Regions from separate parts of the Homo sapiens genome. Here all the other regions are linked to region 1. Evidence: promoter capture Hi-C in 16 types of primary human blood cells and fetal thymus (Javierre and others, 2016). All regions are on one chromosome and are shown on one strand. The core of a region is centred on a gene start or on the middle of the fragment in contact, and the rest is flanking DNA. Distances in the headings are between cores, read along the strand shown.

What was found. The method cuts DNA at HindIII sites, captures the fragments that hold promoters and counts their contacts. A CHiCAGO score of 5 or more calls a contact.
Region 2: a contact is called between a fragment that was not itself captured here and the fragment with the promoter of LRRC41 in region 1, in 1 of 17 cell types (neutrophils). The highest score is 5.1, in neutrophils.
Region 3: a fragment that was not itself captured here is called in contact with the fragment with the promoter of LRRC41 in region 1 in 1 of 17 cell types (total B cells); the score reaches 5.4 in total B cells.

Annotation. Positions count from the first base shown.
Region 1 is chr1:46,300,633-46,305,793 of GRCh38, forward strand. LRRC41 (leucine rich repeat containing 41) reads right to left here and starts at 2,984. Exons shown (of 10, transcript NM_006369.5): 1 at 2,492-2,984. The coding sequence starts at 2,690. UQCRH (ubiquinol-cytochrome c reductase hinge protein) reads left to right here and starts at 3,066. Exons shown (of 4, transcript NM_006004.4): 1 at 3,066-3,188. The coding sequence starts at 3,135. RefSeq lists enhancers at 324-906, 907-1,489, 2,520-2,919, 2,655-3,238, 3,239-3,820 and 1 more and silencers at 1,190-1,739, 1,770-1,839, 2,190-2,339, 2,370-2,419, 2,470-2,529. The HindIII fragment of the contact is 7,686 bases long and covers 1-5,052 here.
Region 2 is chr1:46,601,183-46,606,343 of GRCh38, forward strand. MKNK1 (MAPK interacting serine/threonine kinase 1) reads right to left here and starts at 3,086. Exons shown (of 13, transcript NM_001135553.4): 1 at 3,003-3,086. RefSeq lists enhancers at 2,400-2,900, 2,668-2,717 and a silencer at 3,048-3,267. The HindIII fragment of the contact is 3,112 bases long and covers 809-3,920 here.
Region 3 is chr1:46,039,571-46,044,731 of GRCh38, forward strand. P3R3URF-PIK3R3 (P3R3URF-PIK3R3 readthrough) reads right to left here. Exons shown (of 10, transcript NM_001303427.2): 10 at 570-4,301. The coding sequence ends at 4,103. It overlaps PIK3R3 (phosphoinositide-3-kinase regulatory subunit 3), which reads right to left. Exons shown (of 10, transcript NM_003629.4): 10 at 570-4,301. The coding sequence ends at 4,103. Among named protein-coding and RNA genes, the nearest start is that of PIK3R3, 90 kb to the right of the region's middle. RefSeq lists enhancers at 3,476-4,320, 4,047-4,106, 4,321-5,161. The HindIII fragment of the contact is 1,414 bases long and covers 1,368-2,781 here.

The DNA.
Region 1 (5,161 bases), core at 1,734-4,233:
AAACCCTTGGAGGTCTCTCTGCTGCATTCATGATAAAGTCCAAACTCCATATCCTGGTATTCAAGGTATAATATACCTTATTTTAAAGTTTCCTCATTGTACCCTTTCCTGCTGCCTCTATACACCCGCTGCCCCAACTCCTTACACAAAGCGATGCTAGTCCACTACCTCCAGGAAGCCTTTCCTGGCTGTTAGCCCACACAGACCTTCCTCTAAAATAGCAATGCTTAGCAGGCCTCTTCCTTGGCTATTCTCCTAAAAGGCCTCACTTGATTCAGCTTTTTCTGGTCTAGGCCCACAGGAGCTCTTCCTCCCCTGTCTCCTCTCAACTTGGCTGGGGGCTCAGCCAGTAATGGGATGGTGGTATGTACAGCAGTGGTAGGGGAGGGAGAAGGGGAAAGGGAGATTCAGTAAACTGTCAATTGTTTTAGGGGGAAGAGGCCACACGGGAAGAAGTTCCTCCAGAGCCTTACCCCTTTTCCCTCCAACCTGCTCCCCTCTAGTTAGCCATCTCTTCTTGCAGCCACAGGAATTCTCATCCCCAGTTACCCACAAACTCCTCTCTTCCTTTCTCCATTCTTCTTAAGCCGGGATTTTCCTTGCTTCTTTCTAGCCTGCACCTTTAATGCTGCTGCTTCCCAACCTGGGCCTCCGCACCCAGTCATCTTCCTTTTTAGCCAGTCTTAGCATCCCAGAAGCTCCAGGCGGAAAAGCCAGACCCTCTCTGCCTTCTTCCCCATGCCCTAGGACTTTTCTGAGCTCCCTGCTCAGCTCTACGGAGCCTTTCCTCCTGTTCCCCATGGGTCGGCCTGCCCCTTGTCTTCTCAGCCGCTGGCTGGCCTGGGGCCTCCACTGTCCCCTCCGCACACCGGCCGACTTCTAAAAGCCTCTTCCACCACCACTATGCAGGACACTCAGGCCTCATGGTACTGGGCTCCACTCCCACAGCCAAGGGCCTCCCCGACCACCCTCCAGCTTATCCCGGAGCTTCAGTCCCCCCAAACTCCAGGGCCTTTTCCCCACACCCCCTCCTCATGGCATAACTCAAACTCCGCGCCCTGCAACCTCGAGTCCTCAAAGTCCTCACTCCTGTCCTGACCAGGGCCTTCCTCCTGCAAAGACGCCACGGCCACCCGCAAGGCCTCCTGGTGGAACCTCCCCCGCGCCGCTTCCAGGCCCGGGGCCTGCTCTCCTGCCCCCCTCCCCAGCAGGCCTCGGCCGGGCCTGCCACCTCTTCGCCCAACTCCAACCCCGGCCTCCCGACCCCACCCTCACAGAGCCAGCAGCCTCTCAGGCCCGAGGCCTCCCCTGTCCCCAGCGCGGCTAGGCCTGCTTGGCAGAGCCTCACTTTCCCCTCTTTCACTTGCCCCACGTCGGACCCAAGTTTCCCTCGTCAGCGGCCAGGCCGCGGCCAGCGGTCCCCAACCCACAGCCCCGCCTCCCAGCCCAACTGGCCGGTTCGCCCTCCCCGGCCGTTCATCCCGGCGCCCCAGGCCGCCCTCCATCCAGGCCCGGCCCTTTGGTCCCGGCCGCCTTCAGGCCTGGGGCCCCCGTTCACTCCCATTCAGCCCAAGGCCTCTTGGCGGCGCCGCGCCCCCTGCCACGGCAGCCCGGCAGTCCGGGATCCCCGGGCCGTCGCCCCGCTTGGGGCCTCCTTGGCCCTTCCCGCCTGTCCGTCATTCGAGCCTCCCTCGCTTGTTTAAGCCGCTCCGGGCCCCCCTCCACTCGCTCTCCGGTCCCTCCTCGCCGCTCGAGCCGATCCGAGTGGCCTCCGGCGCTCCCTGTCCTGCGGGTCGCACGGTCGCTCGGTCGCTTAGTCAGTTTGGCACCCGAGACCCCGGTTGTCGGTTCGCTCCCGTCAGCCCTGGGCCGTCAGACAGGCCGCGGCGCCCCGACCCTTTCGTTCGGCCTCTCCCCCTGCCCCATTCCCTCGCTCTCCAATCTGCTGTCCTCCCCTCCGCCCATCGGCTTGGCCTCCGGAATCTCGACCCCCGTGGCGTGTCAGGCAGATGCTGGAGCCCCGGGGCCATCAGTCAGGTTCGGTGGCCCCGGGCCTGGCCTGGCCTTGCCTTAGGCCGGGCCTCCTAACCTCGGCCCCTGCCCTAGGGCAGCCGGGCCATCGCTGCCCACCGGTTCGACATCCGAGACTCTCCTGCCCGGCCCAGCCGAGTGTCAGTTCGCGCGGCCCACAGCCGCAATCCAGCCTCAGTCGCCCGGGCCCAGCCTGCTTCGCTCCAGACCGGGCCTCCTGGCCTCGCCCCCCGCGCCCCCGAGCCAGGCCGCGGTGCGGGTCAGCCTGCCCATTTAGGTCTCCGTCTTTACTCTGTCCAGCCCTGTCAGTCACAAAATTCATTCTCCGATCCTACGAGCTGGCTTTCAGCGCCCCAGGCTGGGCCTTGCCCCGGGCCTCCCGGCCTCGCCCCCCGCGCCCCCCGGCCGCTGGGCCGCCCCTTGCTCTTAGCCAGAGGTAGCCCCTCACCCCGCGACTTACCCCACACCCCGCTCTCCAGAACCCCCATATGGGCGCTCACCGCCCGCCCGCACAGCTCGAACAGGGCGGGGGGAGCGTTGGGGCCCGAGGCCGAGCTCTTCGCTGGCGCCGCCTCCCGGGACGTGGCCTCCATGGTCGTTGCCGCCGCTACCTCACAGAACCAGCAACTCCGGGCGCGCCAGGCCTCGGGCGCCGCCATCTTGGGGAGGTGCGCGAGCCCGAGAGTGTCGCCCGCGGACCGCCATCTTGAAAAGGTCAGCAGTTAGGACGGCTCCATAAGCGATATGGGGAAGAATGTGAATTATTCTAAAGAAATTTCGAAGAAATTAGCACACTTTCCAAGTCTCTTAGGAGCTACTATTTTAGATAAACTCCTAGATCAATTATACTTGGGTGTGGTATGACTAAGGGGATGTTTCTTAGCAAAGCCTCCTCGGGTGCAAACATCAGCTACCCCTAACCTCTGCCTGCGGCTGGTAGTACATGCCAATCTGAGCATGTGTTCGCGACCACGATGAGTGTGCCGCACTTCCGGCCAGATCGCCGGATTTCCGCTGAGTGACCCTTACAAGTCCTTCTTGATCCTGAACTGGGTTAGGTGCCGCTGTTGCTGCTCGTGTTGAATCTAGAACCGTAGCCAGACATGGGACTGGAGGACGAGCAAAAGATGCTTACCGAATCCGGAGATCCTGAGGAGGTAAGGCAAGGCGATCCACTCGGCCCTCTTCTCTGCCCTGAAGCCCAGGACCTAGCCCGCCAAAACACGCACGGGGCCCTCTTAGCCCCCAGTTTACCCTCTAGGGTTTGCATAGTCGGGAGCTCTAGTTCCCTCGACCTTTCCCCAGAATTCGTCCGGTGACTTTGGACAGATAGATGACTAGTTTTTCTCTGGGCCTCGGCTTCTGCATTCTGTGAATGTAGTGAAGGTTTGAGAGCGAAAATGTTTTGTGGACTAAAGTCTTGTAAAAATATGACCTATGTTTGCAGTCAGTCAGATGTTCTGAAGCCCGCGTTTCACAGATTTGGGGAGCAAACAGACCGCCTTGCCCCAGCTCAGGTTAGGAATCCCTACCACATCTTCTATGGAGGTTCGGAAGACCTGGCCTTGTGTTCCTTTTCTTTGAGGAAGGTGTGTGTCTTTGGGGACAATGAAAGAATGTACGATGTGATTCTGTGATGGAAGAGGGAGCTCTTTCCCAGAGAAAGAGTGCTGCTATAATTATTGACTGCTTGCTATTCCAAGTGCTTTATATGCACTAATTAATTTTTTTTTTTTTTTTGAGATGGAATCTCGCTCTGTCGCCCAGGCTGGAGTGCAGTGGCGTGGTCTCGGCTCGCTGCAACCTCCGCCTCCTGGGTTCAAGCGATTCTCCTGCCTCAGCCTCCCAGGTAGCTGGGACTACAGGTGTCCGCCACCACGCCTGGCTAATTTTTGTGTTTTTAGTAGCGACGGGGGTTTCACTCTGTTGGCCAGGCTGATCTCGAACTCCTGACCTAGTGATCCGCCCACCCCGGCCTCCCAAAGTCCTGGGATTACAGGCGTGAGCCACCGCGCCCGGCCCTAATTCATTTCATCTACACACTATTCCTATGAAGTAAGTGTTGGGTACTATTAGTGCCATTTTTACAGATGAGGAAACAAGCATAGAGGTTAAATATCTTTTCTAAGGTCATGCAGCTACCAAATTGGTGCAGCCAGGAATTGCGGCCAAGCAGCGCGGTTCTAGAACCAGGACTCTTATCAATTTTGCGACACAGCTACTAGTTGTTTCTAATCTCATTTCCTGTCCGTCTGTTCTCTGGTCACTTGGGGGCAGCCATTCTGGGCTGTGGGTTCAGAATAATTGGAGACTTATTTATCCCTTAATTTTTCTAGTCTTATTATTTCTAAAAAGAAATAGAACCTGAGGCCGGGCGCAGTGGCTCACGCCTGTAATCCCAACACTTTAGGAGGACGGCCGAGGCAGACAGGTAGCATGAGTCCAGGAGTTGGACCAGCCTGGGCAACGTGGCGAAACCCCGTCTCTACAAAAAATATAAAAATTAGCCGGGCATGGTGGTGAACGCCTGTGGTCTCAACTGCTCGGGAGTTTGAGCCCAGGAAGTCCAGGCTGCAGTGAGCCGTGATCGTGTCACTGCACTCCAGCCGAGGCAACCCGAGTGAGACCCTGTCTCAAAAAAAAAAAAAAAAAAAAAAACTAAAGAAAGAAATGGAGCCTGCCTCAGAAAGGTCAGCAAGATCCACCGCTGCAATAGATGAGAAAAAGCAAGTAATTAAGCAGTCAGTTTTAAACTAGGGTATTCTGGCCGGGCGCGGTGGCTCATGCCTGTAATCCCAGCACTTTGGGAGGCCGAGGCGGGTGGATCGGGAGGCCGAGGCGGGTGGATCGGGAGGCCGAGGCGGGTGGATCAGGAGGTCAGGAGATCCAAACCATCCTGGCTAACATGGTGAAACCCCTTCTCTACTGAAAATACAAAAAATTAGCCGGGCGTGGCGGCGGGCGCCTGTAGTCCCAGCTACTCGAGAGGCTGAGGCAGAATGGCGTCAACCCGAGAGGCGAAGCTTGCAGTGAGCCAAGGTCGCGCCACTGCACTCCAGCCTGGGCGACAGAGCGAGACTCCGTCTCAAAATAAATAAATAAATAAATAAAATAAAATAAACTATGGTAT
Region 2 (5,161 bases), core at 1,115-3,614, 300 kb after region 1:
CTGGGATTACAGGCGTGAGCCACACACCGGCCTCCTTGTGTAATCTCAATCAAGTCCTTTCCCCATCTATAAAATGAAAGTGGCGGAACCAGATGGTTGGTTTCCAAGCTCCTTCTACCTTCAACCATGTAAATTTTTCTCTGATCAAGAAATAACTTTCTCTTCCACATGCTGAGGCTGTTGGCAAGGGAAAATGTGCATTTATAGCTGCTGGTCCCCAGATGGGAGGAACCACTGTTTCCCAAGGCCAAGGGCAGAGTAAACTGATTAGAAAACCACCTGTGAGCTTTCCCCTGTTTGAACTGTACTATTAATACACCCAGTGCAGGTCTCTGAACACAGCATTACCTACCTTCCAACAAAACTCACGGTCAAGGCAAGACAAGAGCCTGAAAACAATGGCTGCAATGAAGAATGCCTGCTTGTGCAGAATTCTTGTACTTTCTTGTTTTTGATGCCTGTAATTAGGGCATCAGTCTAAACTGGGGCCCTCCTTAGGCACAAAGAGGAGGAAAAACACAAAGTCCCATTCTGAACCTGACAGCTCATAAAACAAGGGCCAAACCTAGTAAATAAAAAATGTCACTGACTCACTTAACCACAAACACTGAAGAGGCCTACTATGTGCTGGCCCTATGCTGGACAGAGGAGGAAGGAAAGAGACATGGTCCCTTGCCACCCACGTACTCAGAGTACATATGGAGTGTACATATCCCTAGGCAGACTATGATGAGAGCTATATTAGAGGGTCAGCCTTTGCTACAGAAGATGGAAAGGGGAACAACTAATCCAGCAGAAGGCTCAGAAAAGCTTCACCATGGAGGCCACATGAGATGTAAGAGATGTAAGCCTTGAAAGATGAGGAGGAGGAGGGAAATCCAGGAAGAGAGAATATAAGCAAAGGCTCGAGCAGGAACATGCAGGGAGTGTTTGAGAAACAGAGATTTGGCCGGGCACGTTGGCTCACATCTGTAGTACCAGCACTTTGGGAGGCCCAGGCAGGCGGATCACCTGAGGTCAGAAGTTTGAATCCAGCCTGGCCAACATGGCGAAACCCCGTCTCTACTAAAAATACAAAAATTAGCCGGGTGTGGTGGCTCATGCCTGTAATTCCAGCTACTCAGGAGGCTGAGGCAGGAGAATCACTTGAACCTGGGAAGTGGAGGTTGCAGTGAGCCGAGATTGTGCCACTGCACTCCAGCCTGGGTGACAAAGTGAGACTCCATCTCAAAAAAAAAGGAGAAACAGAGACAACTAGTTTATTTTGACTGAAGCACAGGTTGCAGGTTTGGGAAAACCAAGGGAAACAGGGAGGGGAGAGGTGTGGGAACAAATTGTGCAGGAACTTGTCTGAGGCTGGAGTCCAAACTCTACATCCAGCTTGTCCAACCCGCGGCCCTGGATGGCTCTGAATGTGGTCCAACACAAATTCATAAACGTTCTTAAAACACTGAGATTTTTTTGCAATTTTTTTAAAGCTCATCAGCTATTGTTAATGTTAGTGTATTTTATGTGTGGCCCAAGATGGTTCTTCTTCTTCCAATGTGGCCCAGGGAAGCCAAAAGATTGGACACCACTGCTCTATATAGTAGGCAATGATGCCCACCAAGGTTTCCGAGTAGTGTCTCAGGAAGAGCACAAGGGCACCCATGAAGAGGATGCAAAAGGAACTAAGTAATTCAATTACTCTGGGACCACATTACAGGAGACCACATGCACTTTCTAAGCACGTGCTGGGCTCTGACAGCTCCTGTTCACAGAGCTTCCCTCTCCCATGGCTTCGCTTCATGCAATCTGAGTTGCCATCCCCCACAACTGTCAACATCTGCAAAATACCAGAGTAACAGGACTCCTAACCAACTCTCTGGATTACAGAGAGAGAAGTGTTGAGGTGGGAGCAGATGGGCAGAGGGGGCACCAAAGCCTCTAGCTGGCTCAGTTCCATATAAAACCCAACCCTGGATTTCCTCTTCACATCACTTCCAGCCCAGCCCTCTAATGAAGGGCTGAAGCTAAGGAGAGTGGGCTGAAAGCACCTGGCTGATGGGTGGTGATCCAGTGAGACATTACACCTACTGTCCAGCATGTGCCTGGCGCATGGGCAGTGGTGCCCTTCCCATTCTGCAGGGTCAGTTCCATCTGTAAATCCCACTGAGGCTTCAAGGCCCAGGTCACAACAACTCTTCTCTCAGAGCCTTTCTAAAGTACCCCAATCCAAAATGACCAAGCTCCTAGAAATCACAGCTACCATGTATTCAGCACCCATTACATGACAGGCGCCATACTAGGTGACTTCCATATAATCCTATTCACCCTTCACAATGACCCTATTATGGCCATTTCCTAGGGAAGAAAGTGAAGCTCTGGGAGGGGAAGCAGACTTGCCCCAGGACACACAGCTAAGAGGTGGAAGAGATGAGATCTAAACCCAGGACTCCCTGACCCTGAAGTTGAGCACTTCTAACAACACTTCATTCCTGTGAGCCTGCCTGCCTCTGATCTGCCACTGTCAGGGAGCTTGGAGCTCTCTAGAAGACAGGGTGCACCTGACACTCTTATTACCTTTCCCTGTGGACAGCCATCCACACAGGCAGGAGCCTTTAAATACTGAAAATAAATGAAAACAATTAACTTAAAAATAACGCAGTACACAGATTTCACAAATTCCTCACGTGAAAAACTATTCATGATACTGGACTGCCTGAGCCCTGCGCCCAGCCATAGCCTCGGTCCTGATCCCTGGGAGAGACTGAGTCTCAAACGGGCCACAGAGTAAGCGCCATCTCGGACACCGGCCACGCCCCGACCCCAGGCACAGAGGTCGCAGACAGCTCGGGACAGTCCTGAAAAGCGTCCCCTTAGGCTGTCCCTCCGCAGCTGAATCGCGTCGTGACCTCGGGCAGCCGTGAAGGCCCTGACTGCCCCCTTCCGGGCACACGAGCTCACTCACAGACCCCGGCCCCATTTAGCTCGGAGGAATACCTCGCAGGTCTCGCTTTTACCTTCGCTGGCTCCCGCCGGGGAGCGGTCGCGCGCACCCCTACCTGCAGATCGCTCCTCCGAGAACGCGGAAGAGGCGGTGCTAGATCCAGGGGGTGGGCCCGATCAGAGAGGAGGGTGAGGGGGCGGAGCTGCGCCTGCGCCCTGATGGCTACCCAGGGCCGCCTGAGGGCAGGGGGCTCGAGCTGAGCGAACTGCGCAGGCGTGACAGGGAAGAGGCGGGGAGAGGGGAGATTGCTGGCAAGCGGGTGGGGCTTAGCTCCTCCGGCGCTTTCTTTTCCGAATGGAGGGTGGAGAAGCCCGGGAAGGTAGGAGGCCGGGCGCGACAGGTGTAATTAACATGTACTGAGAGCTTCTGCAGGCCAGGAAGGAATTTTAAAATGCCTTTTATATGTGGGGAAATGCTGCTAGTCTTTTCTAAAACGGGGGCCAATTCTGTACAATTTCTTTAAAAGTCTGAGTGCCTAGAATTTCACCATAAGAGTTTCTCCTTGAGTACAACATTATCCCCAGTATTTCAAAATTTTTAAAACTTTTAAAAGTTCATTTCTTGGGGAAAAACAACTGTAAATAGGTTAATGCCTCAACCAGTCTCCCCACATCCCCTTCCCAAGTCTGCAGCTGCGATGAGAAAGGATGAGAGTGTGGACTGGGATTTAATTCAGGCGCTGACTCCGAGTGATGGAGGTGAACATCCCTTCCCTGCCTGTCTCAGGATTATCGTGAGGATTTGGTAAGCCAAGCTAGTTAAAGAGCCCCAGGGACTTGCTTCCCATCATCCACCTGACAAACATTTGTTCCCTGTCTTGTCGGGGCTGTCTTTTCATCTGTATGATGGAAGGAGATTGGGAATATTAGTGAACATTCAGGACTTTGCTAGATTTCCCAATCTGGGTGAAGGCCGGAGAGGCGGAAGATCAAGCTTCTGTGTTCATTCCCTTCTGGAATCCTGCGGTCCAACCTGAGGGCCCCGATGTATCCTGACTTCTCCCACTCATTACCTTCCGTGGAGGCCGATCCAAGCTTCAAGTCTTCAGAGGCCCTGCTGGCCTGTTCCCTTCCCTGTTGCCTGTGGCAATAGCCCAAGAGATTCAGGACCTATGTTCCAGGTTCTCAAAGTTGCTATGTCCCTCACATGGCAATCAAATTCAGTTAACATCTTTGAGGGCTCTGGGGGTGCTCAGAGGAAGGAGGGCTCCCCCAAAGCAGGTGGAGCTCTAGTCATGACTGTGGCTTATTTCACCACATATTCCACAGCTTGCTGTGGGGTAGGGAGGAGAGGCAACAGGAAACCTCAGAGGCTGCAGTGTTTATGGGAGCCGAGGGTGATGCGGCATCCTTTACTCAATAGGTGGATGCTCTGCCCCAGGCTGGAGAGGATGGCTTACTACCTAGGTCCCTGCTCCAAATATTGTTTTGGAATTTTTTTTCTTTTTTTTTTTCTGAGACAAGGTCTCACTGTGTTCCCCAGGCTGGAGTGCAGTGGCACCAGCTTTGCTCACTGCAACCTCTGCTTGGGCTCAAGTGATCCTCCTGCTTCAGCCTCCTGAGTAGCTGGGATTACAGGCATGCACTACCATGACTGGCTAATTTTTGAATTTTTTTAGAGGCAGGGTTTTGCCATGTTGCCCAGGCTGGTCTCGAACTCCTGAGCTCAATGATCCTCCCACCTTGGCCTCCCAAAGTGCTGGGATTACAGGGAAGAGCCACTATGCCCAGCTTTGTTATGGACCTTGAGCCAACAGGAAAATAAAGCCCAGCCTGACTTCTCAACCAAGCTGCCACTCTACCTCCCAGGACCCTTTGTTACTAGGTTTTGCCCCATGGGAGTGTGCTCTTTTATCTGCATCATTGAGGCCCTATCTCTTTCTTTTCCCCTTCTCTTCCTTTCTGTCTATTCTTCTTTAAGCATCCCTCTGTGAATCTCTCAAAGCAATTTTGTGTCAGCTTCCTAATGTATTTACAGATATTCTCATGTAAGGTGCAGGTCTTGGGTCACACAGTTCTAAGATAAATCTACTCTCACTGCCATGGTCATATTTCAAAATGACCATGAACCCAAAGCATGGGACTTGTAACAGTCTGAGCTGTCCAATGACAGAGGAGGTAGTGAGCGATCTGTTATAGGAGGTGTGCAAATAGCACCCTTTTAGAATGCTGG
Region 3 (5,161 bases), core at 825-3,324, 260 kb before region 1:
GCCCAATCTGACTTATTTATAATTGAGTACACATGGGTGGGGCCTGAGACATGGATGAGCGCTGCAATATCCTATGCAACAAGAGGTTATCGCATGTTGGCTCATTACGTTCCCAGAATACAGGAAGCTCAACAGTGTGCCTTGGCAGGAGATGACAAGGGCCTGGGGCAATAAGAGGATAGATTATAAAGCTGGGCCCATTTCCCCCTCCCCCAGAGTAGAATGTGGAAACACTTCATTCTGGGCAGAAATATGAGAACCAATAAACAGCTTATTAGGAGTGGGCAGTGAGGTGTGGAGGAAATGGCATTCAGTTTTAATTTTCTCAGAGTCAGTATCTAAGACTTCTGTGTCTGTGTTCGGTGGACAGGACTCTGGCATCATGCCTAGTTGGAGTCAATGTCCTCCCCTAGGAAGAAAAGAGCCTCTGGCTGCCCCAGTACTAGTCTTTTGGTGCTTACTGGAGAGAAGGTTTGGAAGTTTCAAGGGCTGTTCAACACCTGAGTACTCTTCTCTCTTGACCCCCACTCTGCCCCCAGCCCACCCCTTCATAGCATGAAGACAAAAAATTACTTTATTGCAATGTCTTTATTGCATTACTGGAGCAAGTTGGCCAGACTGTCCCCTCTTGGGGAAGGTATTAAACAAAAAGACCAATAAGTATCTCCTCTCGCCTTTCCCCCTACCCTCCCCAACAATTGCACAGCAATGTCTGAACACATCTGGTGACAAGAACAATTTGTAAAGTGGTCTAGCAACTACATTATGAACTGTCCCATCACAAGACATACAGTTGGCTTTCTTGTGAGTCAGATATTTTTACGTAAACTACACGAATTTTCTTGGACACATCAAAGACAACAGAATAGATTTTTCACAAGTAACGGCACCAAAGTCACATGCTGGAATTTGTAAGGAAACGAGGTTGTTTGCCACAAGTGGCTGGAGCTAAAGCAGGTTTGAGCAGTTGGCAGCAGAGGGCCCAAGCAGGCCCCCTATCTGGACCCTCTGGTTTCTGAGGCCACTGAAGCCTCACAGAGGCCTACTCTGGGTTGTTAAATAGCAGCAGAGACCACCTTAGAAAACAGGAATTGCCCAGGTGCAATTCTCAGTTTAAGAGAACACATGGGGCTGATTACTTGTAGCAAAAAAGAGACCCGTGGAAGACACATTGGCTCTCAAAGCTTCTTCAAAGCACATGAGGCCTAAATAAGTGGAGGTCCCATCAAGGCTTGGAGAGGGAGTGAAAGTGTTGGGAGGGCCTCATTCTTGGCCAGATCAGTGGTAAGGACGCAGGCAGTCTATCCAGGCCCGAATCATGGCGTGCCATCTAAGGCCAGGTGGAGACAACACTGTTCTGTGATGAAAGCTTCACCTGGAAACAATGGGCCTAGTACCTGTGTCCAGCCAGCCCCAAGCTGCTTGCATGTCAGTAGCTGGGTTCTCTAGCCAGGGGTATAATGAACCCCTCTGATCTTGGTCTCTCTTTGCCCTCTGCCTCATTGAAACTGCAGTTAAGATGCCAAGACAGTCCCAGGGTCCAGATCATGGGACAGGACATGGCACTAGACTCTCATGAAGGAGGCCAAGACCTGCTCCCAAGTCATGGGCGTAGAGAAGCACCTTGCTACCCTCTCCCCCTCTACACACCAGGCCCAGTGGGTAGTAGACTGGTCCCTATGCCATTTCCACAGGCTCAGGGTCAAGCAAGTCATGTGGCAACTGGTCAGAAAAGATACTGTCAAACCTCTCAAATGACCCCTGGGTCTTAGATCCCACAAAACAATGAATTCAAGAATGAAAAAAAAAATGAAGGAATGTAGGACTGAAAAAAAGCAGCCCTTCTCCACAAGCCAGCCCAAGTGTAGATAAAGATGGTACTTGGTCTCTCCCTGCACACCGCTGGTGTCTGCCCAACAAGGAGCAGACACATTACTGAATACTACAGCCCTGTATCTGTATTTCCATTTTGGTTTAAAAGACACTCAGAACACACTGAAATTTTAGTACCAGATGGGAGGGATTCCTTGCACGTAATCTTGAGCATCCACCTGCTTCAGCAGGTTCAACACCAGGTGCAAAGCCATCCAGGTGTGCCCAACAGCAATTAGCTTGGTATTATTCAGTAAAACTTTCAGTTAAGATTTCAATTGACAGTTTGGGGAAGGGATGTGCTGGCTATTAGTTAAATGACTTTAGAGGGGGGTTCATTTGTCTCTGTCTCACCCAATCCTGAAACTGCAGTGTAACCAAGAAAAAGCCAAAGAGAAGCACTTCCCTTTCTATCCTCGTCACTAGTAACTGGAGGTTTTTCCAAAATTAAAAATCTGTGTCTACATCATGGTCCATATTTTAGACCCTGTCATGGAAATAAGTGCTCAGGTAAACTAATATTTTTCTTTCACCCCCAGAACTAGAGCTTTCCTAGCTGTAAGCCTTATAAACCAAGATGCAGGTACTGGCTTCTCTAGCTCAGCCAGGGTGCCTGACTGCACAGCTTTGGGTTCAAACAGCTGACTCACTCTGAGCCTATTATGGTCCCAGGATTGGCTCAGAGGCAGCTGGACTCTATTTGTCAAATGAGTGTTGACTGATGGGTGTGGGGCATGATGGGGGCAGGAATAGATGCCTGCCCCCACTCCATTTGCCTAGCTTCACTCAGCTGGAAGGCTTAAGCCACATGGAGCAGAAGATTCCTGGCCTAAAATCAAGGCCACTGGAGCAGGAGGGCAGACTGCACATAGCCTTAATGGCAGGATCACAAAAAAAGGCAAAGAGAAAAGCTTCCAGATGGCTTCTACTAACAGTCTAAACACTAAGCCATCTTCTCTCCCTGCAAAAGCTTCAGAAACCACTGTATGGAAGCACATGTGTAATGTGGTGTGACTCTCACCCTGGACCACAGGGCCCCTGGGTCTGTGATTTACTGAGGCACCTGACCACAATCTGACTCCCCTCCTTAGCAACCTATAGCTCCCAAAACCCCATCCAGCAAAGGAGGGGGAAATGAAGGGAAATTAAACCATGTTTACTATTTCTGCAGGGCCTTTAAACTTGGGGAAGCACATATAATAATGTTGTTCTATATTGTTATTTGGTATATCAAGCCATCTAAAAGCACTGCATTGCACCTTTTCTTTACTCATACAAACAAGTTACAAAGGTTTCAAACAACAGATCATTCTTTAGGCTAAGGAAACACCATACAAGCACCAACTTCATTTTATGATTCAAAGCTCACCATCCCCACAAAAAGAATGCTATTCCTCATCTCAGAGAAACAGGCAGGAAGGACAGAAGGGGTTAGTTACAGTGATCAATTTTAGCGTTTGCTAAAACTCACAAATTCTAGTCTTTTTATGTTCAAGTTTTGGTACAGAAGTATACATTCAACTATGAGTGCCACGTTTTCCCATCAAACATTGGTCTGGCAACAAACTGTTTTGTTGGCTTCTGAACATAATACTTCTTCAGAGGGAGGGGCTGGTGAGATGCTGAAGCCTAAATTATGTTGGTAAGAAACAAAATACCTTCAGTTGAAGGTTTTTTTTATCATCTTGGCTTAGATTATTTAAATGAAATCCCAAGCCTCCCCATTTTCCTTTGGTTGTCTTTTTCATCAAATCCCATTCTATCACAAAACCTAAACAGCCTTCTTCGTGGGGGGAAGAGAGACTGCCAAAGCAAAACACAACTCCCAGCAGAGCCATGCCCCTGCTGCACTCTCAAGAGTTAGATTTTAAAAAGACATGGTCTCTTCAGAGGCTTCCAAATACAACCCCACCCGCTATAACCATCAAGCCTAATATTCTGTTGAGGGTGTCTGGCTAAACAAAACAAAAACCCCAATGAAACAGACTTTCAAAAAAAACATCTGCTTCCAGCTTAGTATGTCAGTGCAGCGGCATGGCTGAGTCCTAGAGAACCTCAGGCCTCTAATGCCCCCATCCCGGCCGGCTGCTGCTCGGCCTCTCCACTTCACATTCACAAAATCACTTCTTGTGCAAAACAAGCAGTCTATGTAGAAAGAATGCCCTCATCGTAGTCTAATAAAAACTGTAGAAAAAAATGCCAGAGAACCACCTCTCTTCCCACTTCCTCTTTATCTGCAAAGCGAGGGCATCTGTGCATGAACAGGGTAGGCAAGCCTGACGTTGAGGGAGTCGTTGTGCTGAACCAAGGATGTCTGCTGGTAATGGAGCACTAGCTCCTTCAGAGAGCTGTACAGGTTGTAGGGCTCTGCAAAGCCATAGCCCCGAGCAGTGCTGTAGATCACACAGTGCTTCACTTCCCCATCGGCCCTGCAATGACAAACCACAGAAGAAATGTTAAGGTAGGTAACAATAGATAAAAGGACACTAAATGGCCAGAAGTCTGAGAGCAATTGTTATGCAAACAAGTGTTTTTTGTTAACCAGGCAAAGCTTGTGAAATTGCGTTCCCATTCCCTACAGACTTGGCCACAGATACGGGTGTTAAAACAACCACAAATGTAAGGGTTTATTTATTTCTTTTTTTTTTTTTTAGACAGGGTCTCGCTCTATCACGAAAGCTAGGGTACAGTGGCTTGATTACAGCTCACTGCAGCCTTGAACTCCTGGGCTCAAGTGATCCTCCCACCACAGCTTCCCAAGTAGCCGGGACTACAGGTGTGAGCCACATGCCCAGCTACTTTTTTATTTTTAGTAGAAATGGGGTCTTGCTATGTTGCCCAGGCTGGTCGTGAACTCCTGGGCTCAAGGAATCCTCCTGCCTTAGCCTATTAAAATGCTGGGATTACAGGTGTGAGCCACCACGCCCAGCCAAGGGTAGTTTTTGATTAATCAGTTTATGTAAGGACTGCAGCCAAGTCCTGAACCTACAGGCTGCCACCCAATAACCTGAGTGACAGTGAGCGACTGGGCTTACTGCCTTCCTTCTTTTTATTATTCTTAGAAGATCCTAAGTCTTACAAGAACCATTCTCGCCTACATTTCCACTCAGATAACTTCAACAGCCCAAGTCAAGGAGAAATGAAATGTTGCAAGTAGTTCTATCCTTGGATAACAGTAATCCAATGCACTTTTCAACTCCTCCCCCATTTTCTGCCCATAAGACATCCCATTCATCTTTTTGAGGTCCATCTCAGATACCTTTTCCACAAAACCTCCCAATCCGCTCTT